3 separate regions of the Homo sapiens genome follow, and all the other regions are linked to region 2. Evidence: promoter capture Hi-C in 16 types of primary human blood cells and fetal thymus (Javierre and others, 2016). All regions are on one chromosome and are shown on one strand. Each heading gives the region's core, a stretch centred on a gene start or on the middle of the fragment in contact. The rest is flanking DNA. Distances are from core to core; before and after follow the strand shown.

The links. Contacts are between HindIII fragments. The CHiCAGO score rates a contact against its expected background, and 5 or more counts as called.
Region 1: a contact is called between a fragment that was not itself captured here and the fragment with the promoter of MRPL46 in region 2, in 5 of 17 cell types (naive CD8 T cells, total B cells, total CD8 T cells and 2 more). The highest score is 7.3, in naive CD8 T cells.
Region 3: a contact is called between the fragment with the promoter of ABHD2 here and the fragment with the promoter of MRPL46 in region 2, in 3 of 17 cell types (total B cells, naive CD8 T cells and total CD4 T cells). The highest score is 9.1, in total B cells.

Annotation. Positions count from the first base shown.
Region 1 is chr15:89,070,922-89,073,621 of GRCh38, reverse strand. The region is part of intron 2 of CARMAL (coronary artery disease region linked MFGE8 regulatory lncRNA); the gene reads right to left. It also overlaps a transcript of ABHD2 not described here. Among named protein-coding and RNA genes, the nearest start is that of ABHD2, 16 kb to the left of the region's middle. The HindIII fragment of the contact is 876 bases long and covers 830-1,705 here.
Region 2 is chr15:88,466,094-88,468,793 of GRCh38, reverse strand. It overlaps MRPL46 (mitochondrial ribosomal protein L46), which reads left to right and starts at 1,406. Exons shown (of 4, transcript NM_022163.4): 1 at 1,406-1,644. The coding sequence starts at 1,417. It overlaps MRPS11 (mitochondrial ribosomal protein S11), which reads right to left and starts at 1,086. Exons shown (of 6, transcript NM_022839.5): 1 at 1,012-1,086; 2 at 770-886. The coding sequence starts at 1,076. RefSeq lists enhancers at 1,236-1,405, 1,872-2,700. The HindIII fragment of the contact is 6,788 bases long and covers 1-2,700 here.
Region 3 is chr15:89,087,064-89,089,763 of GRCh38, reverse strand. It overlaps ABHD2 (abhydrolase domain containing 2, acylglycerol lipase), which reads right to left and starts at 1,308. Exons shown (of 11, transcript NM_152924.5): 1 at 1,201-1,308. LOC124903573 reads left to right here. Exons shown (of 7, transcript XM_047433432.1): 5 at 832-929; 6 at 1,078-1,696; 7 at 1,823-2,203. The coding sequence ends at 2,037. RefSeq lists enhancers at 649-1,168, 1,110-1,289, 1,900-2,545. The HindIII fragment of the contact is 11,698 bases long and covers 1-2,700 here.

The DNA.
Region 1 (2,700 bases), core at 18-2,517, 600 kb before region 2:
CCAATGATCAGAATTAACACACTTTTTAAAAGAAAACTACAGATTCCCTGTAATCCCAGCACTTTGGGAGGCCGAGGAGGGTGGATCACCTGAGGTCAGGAGTTCGAGACCAGCCTGGCCAACATTGTGACATTCTGTCTCTACTAAAAATACAAAAAAATTACCAGGCATGGTCGTGGGCACCTGTAATCCTAGCTACTTGGGAGGCTGAGGCAGGAGAATCGCTTGAACCTAGGAGGCGGAAGTTGCAGTGAGCCAAGATCGTACCACTGCACTCCAGCCTGGGCAACAGAGCAAGACTGTCTCAAAAACTACAGATTCCCCAGATATTCCACACAAGTTTCTAGCTAATCAGGTCTGAGCTCACACCTAGGTCCCTTTTTTAAAGCTCCCCATAAATCTGATGATAGATTAAGTTTAGCATTGCTCCACAATGCTGCTCTCTGTAGAAGTGGGAATTTTCTGAGTATATTCTTTGTCCCAGGCCCCTCAAAAAGTGCTTTCCTCACAACTAGGCTTGCTAGATTTAGCAAATGAAAATACAGAATGCCTAGTTAAATTTGAATTTCAGATAAAGAGCAAATACTTTTTTAGTATAAGTATGTCTCAAATATTGTGTGGGCTATACTTATAAAATTATTTTAAGTAGTGAAAACAGGTTTAGCAAACTTACTAGTTAAAAATTAAATTTTATTAATATGATCAATTTAAATTTAGGAAAAGTTTCTAAAATTATGTATTGTTTATCTGAATTTCAAATTTAGCTGAGCATTTTGTATTTTACTTGGCAGCTCTACTCACAAAAGTACTGAAGTTCCAAGGAGAAGCTTGGCATAACCATATTGAGGGCAAGAAGAGGCAGAACTTGTCAGACATCAATAAGAAATGGATGAATGGGTGAATACCAAAGATATCATGTAGAGCTGCCTCAGTCAGCTTAGGCTAAGTTATCCTGCAGTAACAAATGACCTTCTCAACTCAGTGGCTAAATAAACCCCAAACTTAACTTTCCCTTCCCTCCCCTCCCCTCTCCTTTTCTTCCCTCCCCTTCCCCTTCCTCTCCCCCTCCTGCTCATCCTTCCCCTTCCCCTCCCCCTCCTGCTCATCCTTCCCCTTCCCCTTCTCCTTCCCCTCCTTTCCTCTTTTGAGACCGAGTCTTGCTCTGTCACCCAGGCTGGAGAGCAGTGGCACAATCTCAGCTAACTGCAACTTCTGCCTCCTGGGTTCAAGTGATTCTTGTGCCTCAGACTCCCGAGTAGCTGGGACTACAGGCCCCCACCACCATGCCTGGCTAATTTTTGTATTTTTAGTAGAGACAGGGTTTCGCCATGTTGGTCAGGCTGGTCTCAAAATCCTGACCTCAAGTGATGCACCTGCCTCGGTCTCCCAGAGTTCTGGGATTACAGGCATGAGCCACTGCACCTGGCCCAAACATTTGTTTCTTATTTGCATTACATATCCATCGAGGTCAGCTATCTTCCTCCTCATTCTGTGACCAAGGCTCATAGGAGGTTTCTAACGGAGACATTTTTGTTCTCCTCAAAAAGGAAAAAAATAAAAGTGTGACATGACTCTTACAGCTTGGGTGACCAGCTATCCCAGTTTGCCCAGGACTGGGGGTTTCCTGGGACACAACACTTTAGTGTTAAAACCAGAATAGTCTTCGTCTTCAGGTAACTGAGGTTGGTCACCCTACAATAAAGCTTCTACCCGAAAGTGGCATGCACCACTTCCATTGGCCAAAAAAGTCATATGACCAAGTTTGTCATCAGGGAGTGAGCATTATAATCGTCCAGTATTGAGGGACCCTGTAGGATAAACATACCCAATAGCAATAACTTAAGCATACCCTTAGAATGACCCTGTATGGCAGACGCACCTGAGTGTGTGCTCTGAGCTAGGGAATCTGGGAGTGGCCAACCCAGAGATTCCTTCCTGTCTATGAGGAACATGTGAGCTCCACCCCACTCCCTTCCTGTCTGGTGGAATGTGGGCCGTATAAGGGATGGAGGCCATTTGTTTTAGGTTAAATGCAGGTTACCAGGTGAAGGTTGTTAAGGGGAGGGTTTTAAGTGAAAATACTGTATAAACTGCATGCTGTTTGCAAGTGGTTGCGTTTTTCCTGTCCAGTCTGCCACTGCTGGAGACTCTCCCCTGTATGTAAGCCCCAAATAAAACCCTATGTCTTTTTTTTTCTTTTGAGACGGGGTTTTGCTCTTGTTGCCCAGGCTGGAATGCAAAGGCACAATCTTGGCTCACTGCAACCTCCACCTCCCGGGTTCAAGCGGTTCTCCTGCCTCAGCCTCCCAAGTAGCTGGGATTATAGGCGCTTGACACCATGCCCAGCTAATTTTTTATATTTTTAGTAGAGATGGGGTTTCACCATGTTGGCCAGGCTGGTCTTGAACTCCTGACCTCAGGTGATCCACTCGCCTTGGCCTCCCAAAGTGCTGGGATCACAGGTGTGAGCCACCGTGCCCGGCCAAAACCCCATGTCTTATTTGCTACCTTTGGGTCTCTTCTTTGACCTCTTGAACCTGGTGCCTTCCCTACTGAGGTTAATTAGGGTTCAGCAAAACAGACCCATGGAGAGGAGCAATGAGTATTTAATAATGCAGTCTACCACAGAGAGCAAGCGGGGGGCACACTTCAGGAAGGCACACGCCTTCATTAGGAGGAAAATAGAAAAGGAAGGCCCTT
Region 2 (2,700 bases), core at 157-2,656:
AAGTAATTCGCCCACCTTGGCCGCCTAAAGTGCTGGGATTAAAGGCATGAGCTACTGCACCCGGCCAGGAGTTAGACACTTATGATTTCATACTTCCAACCAATGCTTACCTCCATTATATTATTGAGCAGATTATGGTTAAAATGTTTGCATGTTTGTCTTCCCTCAAAGACTGTGAACTACTTGTGGGGAGGAATGATCTTTTGTATCTGTATTCACGGCACCTAGCATGGTGTCTCACTCATAGTAGATTCTTGGTAAATGTTTGTTAAATGGATGTGAAGTTAAGTGGATGTGTATACAGCATACAGAGGTGGTGGCACTGGTGGGAAGCAAGATGCCAGTTCCTAGGGCTGAGCACAAAACCCACCCTGGACCATCCGTAAGACGTGCAGGAACATCTGTTCCATCGCTAGCGCCCTCTACCTCCCCATTTTGTTTTGGAGGCAGGGAAGGTTATTGGTCTGAAAAGATCTCCATCTCAGAAGAAAAGAACGCTGATACATGTTATGGATATCTCACATTCACTCATTGATTTAACGAATGTTCACTGAACATTTACTCTGTACCACGGCTCATCTGATTCTCACAACCTCTCTCAGCATTATCCGCATTTTTAGATGAGAAGGCTGAGGCTCAGATTTATTTGCATAAGGTCCCACGGATAGCAAGTGACATAGCTGAAAATTCACTGGTTCTGACTCTGGAGGGTGTCGGGCAAGAGTCAGGGGTTGCGGGTCTCCAGAGGGCTGGTCCAAGTGGGGCTCACCTGAACTTGGTGTGGCTGGGAGCCGCGTTCTGTTCAACTTTCTGCTTGGCCGCAGCGTCTTGGAGCTGTCGAGCGCCTGTGCAGATGGTCCCGGCCGGCGTTCTGGCCACGACCCTGCTGGGAAGAAAAGCTCGGTGAGGGCCACGGCCTAACGGTCACTGGGGCCCGGGTGGCTCAAGGGACACGAGTAGGAGCATAGTCCTGGAGGTGGCGGTGGGCTCGAGGGGGCAGTCATTTGTTACCCGGCTGTCTGGGGCCAAGTCCAGGACCGCAGGAACCGCGACCCCGCGTTTCTCACAGCCTGCATGACTTGAATTGACCCCAGTCAGTTTCCGTCTGCAGCGACAGTCACAGCTGCGCCGGCGCCGGTACCATGAGTGCCTGTCGGGGAGGGGACAGAAGGGAAAGTCATCTACTCTTCATTAGGTCCACTGAATATTTTTATTTCCATTTAAATGCTCAATAAGACTTTCACTGTAGTTCACCAGGGGATTCTTTCCCTTTTTTAATGTTCTGAGATGGTGGGTCACCCCCTCCATATGCGAATGGTTCGTTCTAGCAGTTCCGGGACTGAGCTTTCCCCTAGTTTGCCGCTCCCGCGGCTGAGGGATCCCTGGGAGCCGCGGTGCATTGTGGGAGAACGAAAGATGGCGGCGCCCGTAAGGCGGACGCTGTTAGGGGTGGCGGGGGGTTGGCGGCGGTTCGAGAGGCTCTGGGCCGGCAGTCTAAGCTCTCGCAGCCTGGCTCTTGCAGCCGCACCCTCAAGCAACGGATCCCCATGGCGCTTGTTGGGCGCGTTGTGCCTGCAGCGGCCACCTGTAGTCTCCAAGCCGTTGACCCCATTGCAGGAAGAGATGGCGTCTCTACTGCAGCAGGTGGGACTGAGATGCAGGGTTCAGAGTGACGTTTATTCTGCGTGACTTTGAGCGAGTAATTTCACCTCTCTGAACTTAAGTATACGGTACTTATCCGCAGAATGGTACCTACCTTACTGACTTGGTTTGGTACATAGATGTTCAACAAAAAGTGGTTTCTTTTCATTGGCCGTGTTTATTGTCACCTTAGACAACTCTTTGGAGATACTCTACTTCTTGTTCATGCAACACAATAGGGATCCTGTGGTGAACAAGAATCGGTCCGTGTCACTAGGAGCTTACAAGTCTGGAGGGAGAAAGTCTTTGTGATGTGATGAATGTTAAGAAGGAAATACAAGAGGCGGTGGGCACATCTGTCAGATGCCTATGATAAGCCTACTCTGTTTTATCTCATGGGGCTATCTGTGTGAGGGGCAAGTGAGGAAGCATGGGCAAAAACAGTGTAGTGGCTGTGAAGGTGTGAGGTCGCTACAGAAAGTGTTTGAAGGGTGATATGTTTCCTCAGAATCCGAGATGTTTTTGTCTTGGTCTGTTGAGAACTATAAACTTCTCTTCTGTGCTTTTTGCTTGATTTATTCATTTACTCGCTCGCTTGACAAATATTTGTTACTCAACCTACAGATGTTCATTGTGCCCATACTATGCATCAGAGAGTATGTTAAGTGATAGAGATGCTGTAATGAATAAGGCAGAAGTAGCTCTGGTTCTCAGAGTACTTCAGTCTAGTTGAGTGAGGGGATCAGTCAGTAACCAAATAATCATACAACTAAATGCAGACCCTGATAAGTGTTGTTAAGGAAAACACAAGGCACTATAAGAGTGTTTAACAAATACATCACATTTTGATTTTATGGTGAGTGTCAAGGAATGCCTCAGACTTTCTGAATACAGGTTTTTCTCTTTATGAGAAATGTCTCTCTGAGACAGTCATATTTAAATTGAAATCAGAAAGATGAGTAGGACTCTCCCAGAAGAAAGAATGTGAGGAAAAACATTCTAGGAAGAAGGAACAACCTCTTGAAAGTCCCTGAACAGGAAAGTCCTTGGTGAGTGAGA
Region 3 (2,700 bases), core at 59-2,558, 620 kb before region 2:
CTCTCTATTCCGGCAAATGACAGAGGGTAGTGAAGGATTTCTCTTTTGGACTCTGCTTAATGTGGCTGTAAGGAAACGGCCTTCGAAAAGCTCTGGGCACAGATCTTGTTGACTCTGCCAAACCTGCAGTCTCTCCAGGTCCCTCTGTGGAGCCTGTTCTTGGAACATGCCTTTGGATTTGGTTACTGGAATGCAGGTGAAACTGACAAACTGGAGGTCCAGCAACCAAAAAAGAGAGATTGGGAAGATTAAGAGAGCGGTCCATGGTAGTTCAAATACAAGGAGTTTCACAGTGGCTAAATAAACCTCTATCTTTTTGTATAATCCAGTCTCTTTGCTAACACCCACTCTTGAGAGCTGAAACCTCAAAATTCATTATGGGTGAATTCAACAGCCACTTGGAACCTAATGGACCCCCAGAAGTACTCTTCTCAAGCTAGGCATCAAAGGCCACTTAGAGTGCATTTGTGGGTAGAGAAGGCCCTTACAGATGGGTCATGCAGTCCTCCCTTGGGAGTCCTAAGCATCCGACACAGGTGGCTGTCATCAGGCCACTGCTTGGACATCGCCAAGGTCGAGGCGCTAGCTGCCCGGCCTGGCAGGCAGCCTCCTGCGCTGCTGGACAGCTCTAGCTGTGGGAAAAGCTCACGAAGGGCCTAGAACAGTGCCGGTCGCGGGGCCGAACTCGGTAAATGTGCTTCCAAGTGGGTCAAAAGCTGCCTTTCTAGAACTTAAACCCACTGGTCCTGCGTGAGCCCCTGGAGCCCCGAAACACAGAGGCCTCTCGGGTATCTCGGGCTGTAATCAGGCCCCTCGGCCCTCTCCTTCCAGGTGCGGATCCCGGACCTTCTTCGCCGAGCCTGAACCGGCAGACCCCTCCCCAGGCCCCTGAAGACCCAGGAGTGAGCACCAATGGGGGAAAGGCCGCGGTCGGGGTTGTCCCCAACCTCGGTTCCTCGGGCAGAAGGGGACAAAGGGCCTCAGGAAGGCGTATCCCCCGCCGCGATCTGGGCTGTCCCCACCACTGGGCAAGCCAGCCCCTGGGACCCCCACGGCGCCAGATGACAGGCCCCCCAGGATCCCCTCAGGCTGCGGCGTGATGGGCCGAGCTACGCCGGGGACCTCGGGGCTCGGAGATTCGGTTCGACGGGTCCGGGGTGCGATCCCCGCTCCGCGGAGCTCGCTCGGCCGTGGCTTTACCTGCGTGTGATTGACTACAGGTGCTCAGCTCGCCCCCAGTCTGGTTCCTGCAGCTCCCCGGCTGCCAGCGGCGCTCATGGATATACAGCCGGAACCCCTGGCCAGTGCAGCTCCCGCCGCTACCGGCCCCGCCCAAGTAACTGCCGCCACGCCCCTGACGACCGCTTCTGCCACGCCCCTAACCACGGAAACCGCTTGTTCATTGGGCAGTTCAGCCGCTTCTCCACTTGCCCCGCGCGCTCATTGCGTCTAGGAGGGGATCCATTGATCAGCGAAGCTGTTCCTCAGAGTGGAGGCGGGATTCTTAGGGGAGAGCTCCTCAGCAATTGGTTACATTTGACGGCTTTAGTCCAGGGACCCAGACGCTACTGGATAAGGCCAGCCCGGAGTGGGCGGGGAAAGGGGAGGAGGGCTAGAAGGTGGGTCGTGTTTGATGTCGATGGGGGCGGGGTGAAGAGACGGGTAATTGTGACCGCAAACTGCTTTAGAGGGCTGGGTAAGGTCAGCTGTCGACTGGGCTCAGAGGAATGAGGTCGGCTGGTAGCTCAGCTGCTGGTAGCTCAGCTGGGGCTCTTATGGGTCCAGGCCGACTGACTGACTCACGTGTACTCAAATTTCGCAGGGGTGAAATTTGAGGTCATATCCCGGGAGAGAGGAAGAAGGGTCGTGAGTCACCGAACCCGAAGGAGAGGAAAAGATGTGGAGGCAGCGGTCTATGGCCTCTTCCAGCTCCGGACGGGGGATGGGGACGCTCTGGGCAATACGGGCCTCAGTTATTGTCCCACTGTCCTTTCAACCCTTAACCAACCCAGTTGGAGGCCGCCTGGAAGAATGTAGCCTTGGAACTAGGGCCTGGAATTGGGGCTCCTACCGGTTGTGTGGGCTTGGGCAAGTCACTTAACCTTCCCGCATGCTCCCTTCACTTGGCAACTGAGGGTAACAATAGTAGTTGATGAGAAGATTAAATAAACTCTGATAAATGCCAACAGTGGCTGGCACTCAACAGGCATTCAATCAAGGCTGATTCTTCCCCCATCACCCACTCACCTCATCCGGCTGGGAAACTAGGCCCATTTCTAAAATTCTATGAGCCTGAAACTGCTTTTGCAATGGCATGTCGTGTACCAAGAATAGAACACTTGAGCGACTTGAAATGCAACCCCTGTAGGGCAGACAAGGCCACCCTACCAAGGCCCCATAGGGCTCGGAGAGAGGGAGCAGGGGATGAAATGAGAGGAGCGATTTAGTCAGAGAAGGGAAGTGGCATTTGTTACCATGTAAATTTTTCCCAACATATTTCAGGTTGTGACAAGGAACAGTGGGCTGGCTCAAGTTTTATGGAGCGTAACCAAATAACATCCTTTGAAGGCTGATCAGCACCGGACCAGAAATCATTGCATGAGCTCTATCTGTCAGAGACCCCTGAAACCCATTCCCCATTCTGAAGGTGTAGACATCACAGAGTGTGGACAGAAATAGCTTCTCAGGCCTGAATGTAGC